2 separate regions of the Homo sapiens genome follow, and region 1 is linked to region 2. The links are contacts of gene promoters, found by promoter capture Hi-C in blood cells and fetal thymus (Javierre and others, 2016). All regions are on one chromosome and are shown on one strand. Each heading gives the region's core, a stretch centred on a gene start or on the middle of the fragment in contact. The rest is flanking DNA. Distances are from core to core; before and after follow the strand shown.

Evidence for each region. Contacts are between HindIII fragments. The CHiCAGO score rates a contact against its expected background, and 5 or more counts as called.
Region 1: a fragment that was not itself captured here is called in contact with the fragment with the promoter of SYT8 in region 2 in 1 of 17 cell types (monocytes); the score reaches 7.2 in monocytes.

The regions. Positions count from the first base shown.
Region 1 is chr11:1,731,524-1,735,790 of GRCh38, forward strand. IFITM10 (interferon induced transmembrane protein 10) reads right to left here. Exons shown (of 3, transcript NM_001170820.4): 3 at 883-3,906. The coding sequence ends at 3,757. Among named protein-coding and RNA genes, the nearest start is that of IFITM10, 17 kb to the right of the region's middle. The HindIII fragment of the contact is 2,601 bases long and covers 1,289-3,889 here.
Region 2 is chr11:1,832,516-1,836,239 of GRCh38, forward strand. It overlaps SYT8 (synaptotagmin 8), which reads left to right and starts at 2,475. Exons shown (of 8, transcript NM_001394072.1): 1 at 2,475-2,684; 2 at 2,781-2,944; 3 at 3,371-3,469; 4 at 3,611-3,724. The coding sequence starts at 2,591. RefSeq lists silencers at 4-213, 274-333 and enhancers at 436-1,051, 1,052-1,665. The HindIII fragment of the contact is 25,919 bases long and covers 1-3,724 here.

The DNA.
Region 1 (4,267 bases), core at 1,339-3,838, 100 kb before region 2:
ACACACACACATACATAGTCACACACATGCACACAGTCACAAACATGCACATACAACACATCCACATGCATGCATACACATGTACACACAACACATCCACATGCATGCATACACATGTATACACAACACATCCACATGCATGCAGTCACACACACTCACACAAAGCACATTTACACACATGCACACAGTCATACATGCACACCCTTGTACACACAACACACACACATGCACACAGGCACACACACATGCACACATAACGTGAATATCACGTGCAGTCACACACATGCAAACACACACACAGTTACATACATTCAAACACATGTGCACATAATACATGCATGCATAGAGTCACACACACATGCAGTCACACACAACACATACATGCACACAGTCACACAGAAGCAGTCACACACACATGCACCACATACACAGACAAAAGCACACAGGCACACACACTACACACACACACGAACACATATGCACACAGTCTCACACACACACACACACACACACAGATGCACAGTGAGGCTCAGCCTTTACAGTCCCCTCAGTCTTGATCCTTTATTTATTTATTTATTGAGACAGGGTCTCACTCTGTCACCCAGGCTGGAGTGCAGTGGTGCAATCACGGCTCACTGCAGCCTTGAGCTCCTGGGCACAAGCAATCCTCCTGCCTCAGTCTCCCAAAGCACTGGGATTATAAGCATGAGCCACTGAGCCAAGCCCCAATCCTTTTAAACTGGCCTGTTGGGCTGGGGTCCCAAGGGCAGTGACCAGGGCAGCATGGGGAGAGGGGAGGGTAGGGAAAGTCACCTGACTCCCCAAAGATGCACAAATATATGGAGGCACACAGGGAGAAGGACAGAGAGAGTGAGAGGGGGATTGATTCTTTCGTTCGTACAATGTTTATTGAATGTCAAATGTCTGCCAGGCACTGTGCAAAATCACATAAAAATGAGGTGGGAGGAGTGCAGTGGACAGGGAGCGCCAGCAGGTCAGGCATGAGTACAGACAGGCAAAGACACAGACTTCGAAGCCAGAGACCAGCGCCGGAGCTGATGCCTGCTTGCCTGCCTGCTGAGGGCGAGAATGCACCTGCTGTGGGGGCCTGACCTCACCGTGGACACCCACCGCGGGAGCACCAGCCCTCCCCCGGTCCCCAGGGTATGGAAGCCAGGGGCCTTTGTAGCCCCACATTGCCCGGAGTTGGATACAAACATCCCAAGAGCTAGGGGTGCCTTTACTGGCTGGAAGGTGACCGTTCCATTTCCCCAACATGAACTCAGAAAGCTTCAGCCAGGCGCAGGAACATCCCAGGGAAAAGCTGGCTGAGGGCTTCCCTAATGCAGGGGTGTTTCCTCCTGGCCCCTGTCCCAGGCAGCCACCAGCACTGCCACCAAATGTTTAAGGAAAATAGGCAAAGAAAGCATTTGCCCCTCTACTTTCTTCCCTCCCAGGCATAACATGGAAGACACCTGGACACTGGGGTTGGCCTTAGCTGCCCCAGGAACTAGAAGCCAGGACCCTCTCTCTTCCAAGGCCCAGCAGCCTCTGCCATCCTCTTCCAGCCCAGGCTTGTCCAGGAAGCCTCTGGGTCTAATGGTGCAAGCATCCGAAGTGCCCACAACCAGGCTGCCCACAGTCTCGGCAAGGCTTTCAGCCGCCCCTGGCACTTCTCCCACCATCCTCCAAGAGGCTCAATGACAGCTCCGTGCAGCCCCGCATCAGCCTCGCAGCCCGCCGCCTCCTGCCCTCCCATCCCACCACTGCCTGGGTTCAAGGGTCAGTGCTCAAGAGTCCCACATGGTCCCCACCCTGTCCCCTCTCTCGACTCTGACCCCCAAGCCCTCCCATTTTGAGGTCACACACTCCCCTCCCCTCTTCCCTGAGCACCCCCTCCATCCACCTCTGCCTGGGCTGCACCCCAGGCCCACGGGCAGGTGCTGGCCACCCTCCCTTCCTCTGCAGGTTTCTGGGTCAGGACTGTGACCAGAATCTTGCTCGCTGCACTCCTGCCACGGCTGTGCCCTGTCCCCTGCGTTTGTCCCATCTGCTGCTAGCTCAAGGTCCTCCCTTCTGAGGCACCCCACGTCTCCAGCCCAGAAGGCTCTTCCCTTCTCTGCTTGGTATCTTAAAGTCAACATCTTCTTCTCCCTGGTTTCCTGCCCTTGGTACACAGCCCTCTCCACTGGGCTGTCCAAGTCAAGGGACAGGAATCCTCCGGGCTTCTCCCCCACCTTACCTTCCAAACCAGTCAACCCCACTGACTGCACAGCTGCCACGCAGGCGCCCTGCTGTCCAGCCCTCTGCTGCCAGCCCCAGCCCAGGCTCAGCTCCCTCCACTTGCATCCACCTCTGTCCACTGGACTCCCCTCCAAGCTGGCCTCGCTACCCCAGAGGGCACGAGCTTCCCAAAACATGAGGCGCACGGCCATGCCCCTTCCCTGGGAAGGTTTGCCTGCCTTCCCACGGAATAGCAAGTCCTTCCCACTGCGCACCTGAGCTGCGGGATTTCCTGCGGTTTCCCAGACCAGCTGGGCACCCACAGCGCGAAGCTCCACACCCATGGCCACTGCCTCGGCTTCTTCTCCATCTTCACCTCCCCACCTCCTTCGTGTGCCTCGCCGATGCCCTGCACTTTTCCTAGTGCACCCTCATCAGCTTGTCTTCAGGGCTGACCGGCACCCCCATGACTGTGCCTGAGTTCCAAGGGGACAGAGCCCATCCCTGCATCCTGCCTCCCACATTGTGGACTGCACATGCCATGGGCCGTCAGGGCGCTGGCCTCGGCCTTTGAAAGGCATCTTCCGTTCATTTTCACAGTGATTATAGAAGTGAAAGGCCATTTTCCTATTTTACAGCTAAGGAGATGGGCACGAGAGAGGTAAAGGGGCCTGTCCAGGTCCCAGAGCCCTCCAGGAGGGACAGGGGTTAGCCAGGCGTCTATCGTCTCTGCCTGCTGCTTCCTTCCGAGTGAATTTGTGGTTTCCTTTGCTCTGATTTGGCCAATGCAGGCAGCTGAGGCTGTGCCCCACCCCCTTCCGTCCCCCCAGGAGGCTGCCTGACCCTCTAAGTGACTCGAGTTTGGGGTACCTCCACCAAATGCCCCCCCTTCCCATTCACTGTCTGGCACAGCTGTGATGGAGCAGACCGTCCCCTGCAGTCTGTTGGGACACAGCACCCGGGGCCCTGACCGCCAGGCAGTTCCTGAGGGAGGATTGCAAAGCCTCCAGACTTCTCCAGGCCCTGCCAGGGACACAAAGTAGAAGGCTGGGCTGGAGCTGCATGGGTATTTCATTGAAAGTTCACAGACACAAGGGCTCTGAGCGGGGTCACATCGTGGAGGAGGCAGGGTCGGGGAGCACAGAGTGAGTCCTCCCAACCTGGGACAATTTTGCATAAGCCCTTCCTGCTAGGTGTCAGGTCCAAGGGGCCCCAGGAGCCTGGGAAGGGGCACGTGAGGGCAGGGACACAGACGCTGGAAGCCAGGGTGCAGCAGCGAGGGGAGAAGCCCCCAGGCCCCAGACACAGGCAGGGTGGAGGCCAGGAGGCGGAGGGGGTGGACTGAGGGCCAAGCTCACTGCCCCCTTGCTGTACTCAGCTTCTGATGGCCTTGCTGCCCAGTTCACAGCTCAAGGGGGCCCCAGGACAAGAAGCCCTGCCCTGCCCCAACCTCATGGGATCCTGCGTTTCAGGGACCATGAGAATAAACATGTCTCAGTGCTTGTCTCCGCCAGCAGCCGTGCCTGGCGGGCCTTAGTAGTCGGTGAGGGGGTACCGCAGGAAGATGAAGACGAGGATGATGCAGGAGGCTGCCAGGGCAGAACTGGTGATGTTGAACAGCCGGGCCGTCTTTGCATCCTCCACGGCTCCATTCAGGTCATTGAGAAGCTTCTTGTCTCGCACCTGAAGCCGGGAGGAGGACAGGAAATGGGCAGTCAGCCAGGGAGCAGGGCCTTGGAGCATCCAGGAGCCCAGCAGAGCCGGTGCCACAGTGCTCAGCACAGTACCAGTGCTTTGTTTCCGAGAGCTGACGAATGAACGATGGTTCTAGAGGAACATGTCTCTGCCCTGGGGCACTGTACACGGATGAACTTGGGGCACGGGGGCGTCATGTCTGAAACCTCTCAGCCCTCAACTGGTTTATAAAGTAGGTGAGATGTATTTATATATATAGAGAAAAGCAAATATGGTAAAATGTTAAAAAATTGGGGCAACTGGGTGAAGGATATAAAGAAATTCCTTGTTTTTTCTTTTTGCAAGTTTT
Region 2 (3,724 bases), core at 1,225-3,724:
CAGATCTGGGAGGGGAGACCCGAGAGCCCCCAGCGCCCAAGGGTCTCCAGGGCACTGTCCCCGGGAGCCATGAGGGAGGCCGGGTCCCGAGGGGCGGACGGCGCCACCTGGTGGCCATGCGCCCGCTGCACCTGCACCTCCCTGGGGTCCCGGCGGTCCGGAGGGACCCCGCACCTCCCCAGGCTTTGGGACCCCCAGCATCGGCAGCCAGCGCCCCCAGGGTCCTGGGGTTCTCCGGAGCAGCTTCTGGGTGGCCCCTGTGCTCCTCTGGGGACAAGGTCACCAGGCTGGCCCGGGAGTGCCGCTGGCCGGCCGCGGCAAATCACTGCAGGGGAGCTCTCCCCGCCCGGCCCTGACTGTTCTTAGACTAAAGGAGGGGGGACGCCAGCAAAGCGGGGGCACAGGGGAGGGGCGCACGCACACGCACACGCACACATGCCCGCACTCACAGATGGAGATTCTGTATTGGCAACTTATCCGGAATCTCAACCATAAAAATCTGGAGTGAAGCTACTTTAATCTCAGCATGTATACAGGCTCTGACATTTCAAAAAGAGAAGTTGCCTTGAAACTCCACGTAGGGAGGAGGCAGTGGCCTGTTTGAATCTGGCCGGCACAGTCCCGCTCCAGGGACCCTGCGGACCCAGCCCATTCCATCAGCCACCACCAGTAGGAGCGCTCCGCCAGCCACGTGTGGGACGCCGGACCCACCTGGGAGTGTCCCCCAGGAGCTGAGGGGCTGCCGAGGCCCGTGAGCTTCACTGCACACCCACACTGCATCTGCAGGGGACTCACCCAAAGGGTCCCCCGAACTCGACAAGCTCCGTCATTTGTGAGGCCCAGTGCAGAATGAAAATGTGCAGCATCTTGTTCCAAAATTAAGAATTTCAAGATGGCCCCAGCACGCATTAAACCAAGCAGGGACCCCTCTGAGCATGGGGCCCTGCGCACAGGGTGCAGCCTGGAAAGCTGGCCCTGACCTCCGCATCTCCTTTTTGTACCTATAATCCCTCCATTGTGCTGGCCCCTGTGTTCTGGGGACAGGCTGGGCTTCCCAGGCCATGCTGGCCTCCAGAGCCACAAAACTAGAGCTCCCAGCCTCGGTCCACTCGTCTGTAAAACACCTGGCCTGCTGACCTCACAGGGTCAACATGCGTGTGGGGCTGGAACCTGGACCCTCCCTCCCCTCCTTGAGCTGCAGCCCCCTCATCTGAACACTGGGGGTTTGGGTCCGTTCTGGGAGTGCAGCTGCCTCTCCCAGCCTGCCAGGGAGTGGGGCATTGATGCTGTGTGCGCGTGCGTGTGTGTGTGTGTGTGTGTGTGTGTGTGTGTGTGTGTGTGTGTGTGTCTGGAGTCATGGCAGGGTCCCTTTCTGTCTGTCTCCTTGCTCTGCCCCAGACTGGGGGGCTGCAGAGGTGAGGGTATCTGGCCTCAACAGCTGCTTATTCCCGATGGGATGGCCTGGGCTGGGCCCCTGAGGCCAGGCTGACTTGGACATGGCAAGAGGGGTCCCAGGCTCTTGTGGGCAAAGCAGGGGAGGCGCCAATGTGGAGGAACAGAGTCTCCTGGCTGGCTGCTGCTCTCTGGAGCGGGTGGAGTCAGGGAAGAGCTGAGCTGGGGAGTCACCCTGGGCCTGGGGTCACCGTAGGCCCCATGTAGCACCCTGGTTCCCCTGCCTGTAGGTGACAGGAGCCAGCCCAGCCAGGTGTGCTCCCTCCCCAGGCCCTAGGCAGGCGGGTACAGGGGCCAGCAGCTGCGCCCGCCCCACCTTCCTTCCCACCCACATGCCGAAGGGTGGCCAGGCAGGCAGGTGGACGAGTCCAGGCAGCGGCTGAGTCAGTGTGTGTGGAATGTTCTGGCCGCTCCCAGCTGCACCCTGCCCCTACCTGCCACCACCTCACCTTCATCCTCAGGCGCTGCGGCCCTGAGCCCCTGCCAGGAATGCACCTTTAGCCCAGGCCTGCTCAGTGAGCTCCGCCGACAGCCAGCCCTGCTCCTCCCGCCATGACCCTGCAGACCCCTCTGGGCTTCCAAGTTCCTGGGGGCTGCAGTGAACATGCTCCACCTGCATGGCTGGCAAACCATGGTGGGCCCCAGCTGTGGTGCGTGCTGGGGTAGAGGCAAGGAAGTGATGGGACCGCAGAGATGAGACCCCCAGGGATGAGATGGGACCCCCAGGCAGGGCCCAGGGTCCAGGGCCCAGGAGAGAGAAGCAGGGAGGGAGAGAGCTTCCTGGTGGAGGACGCATCCTACAGTGGGGGCAAGGGTGCTCTGAGGTCCGGTGAAGGCAGGGACTAGGCTGCCCAGGCCCTGCCTGCTTGGCTGGGGCTGGGGGCTGCTGGGAGGTGGCTGGGAGGCTGGGCCTGGGCAGCTAAGCTGGAGCTTTGGCCAGGGTCCAGAGCCTCCCTCCCTTCAGCTTCCTGCTGCACAGAACCCTCGCCCCTGGCCACCCCGTGCTGCCTCCTTGCCCTGGCAGACCCAGCACTGGCTGCTGCTAGTCAGATGGGGTAGCGGGCAGGGGCCGGAGGGGCCACCCTCCCAGCTGACCCAGCCTCCTGGGCCGCTTCTTCCAAACCAGCAGGGTAGAAAGATGGGGCACCCACCAGTCTCTCCCAGTGCCCCGGCCCCAGCTGGCACCACAGCTATACCTGGGCTTATTCCAGACCTTGTCGCCGGGACCCCCTGTGAGTTGTGGGATTCCCAAGAGGGGTGTGGGGATAACCCAGCCAAGTGGGGGCTGCAGCTGTCCACAGATGCACTCAGCCTGGCCTCTACCCCAGGGCCCCGCTGGGCTCTCATTGCCGGCGCCCTTGCCGCGGGCGTCCTCCTCGTCTCCTGCCTCCTCTGTGCTGCCTGCTGCTGCTGCCGCCGCCACAGGAAGAAGCCCAGGGACAAGGAGTCCGTGGGTCTGGGCAGTGCCCGCGGCACCACCACCACCCACCTGGTGAGGAGCGGCTCCTTGCTCACTCAGTCCAGAGAGGGCTTGAAATCCAGGCTCCAGAGCCCAGGGCAGCGAGGCGAGTTCAGCCCCAGGGATGGTTTAACCCCCACAGAGGCAGGGCGTTGAGGACCTTCCTGGCAGGGAAAGTGGGTGAACAGAGGTGAGAAGGAGGCCATGCAACAGGGGCTGCCCCATGGGCCCGAGGGAGCCACAGCGGGTTCTTGAGGAAGGCAGGGGGTACCCCAGATGCCACGTTTTGGGTGGGTTTGGCCGGTCTCACAGAGCGAAGCCGACGATTTGTGCCTGTTGGGTGGCCTGGCCTGGAGGCGGGGGGTCTTGACCCATGTCATGCAAGGGCTGCCCGGGAGCCCAGGGCTCTGATGAGGCATGATGTCAGCACCACCTGCCCCTTGTCCCAACTCACTCCAGGTGCAACCTGATGTGGATGGCCTGGAGTCCAGCCCGGGGGATGCTCAGCAATGGGGGTGCCTGCAGCTCTCCCTGGAGTTCGACTTTGGAAGCCAGGAGGTGAAGGGCCCCGCTGCGCAGGACCAGCGGTTCTGCGAGTTTCCGGAAAGGGTGACGGGGGAAGGGCAGACCCCATGCCCTGGGTGGTGGGGAGCTGACAGGGCAGGGGCCCTTGGCTGAGCCCACCCCGCTGGCTCCCAGATCAGGGTGGGCCTGAGGCAGGCAGCCGACCTGAGGCCTGGGGGCACCGTGGACCCCTATGCCCGGGTCAGCGTCTCCACCCAGGCCGGACACAGACATGAGACAAAAGTGCAC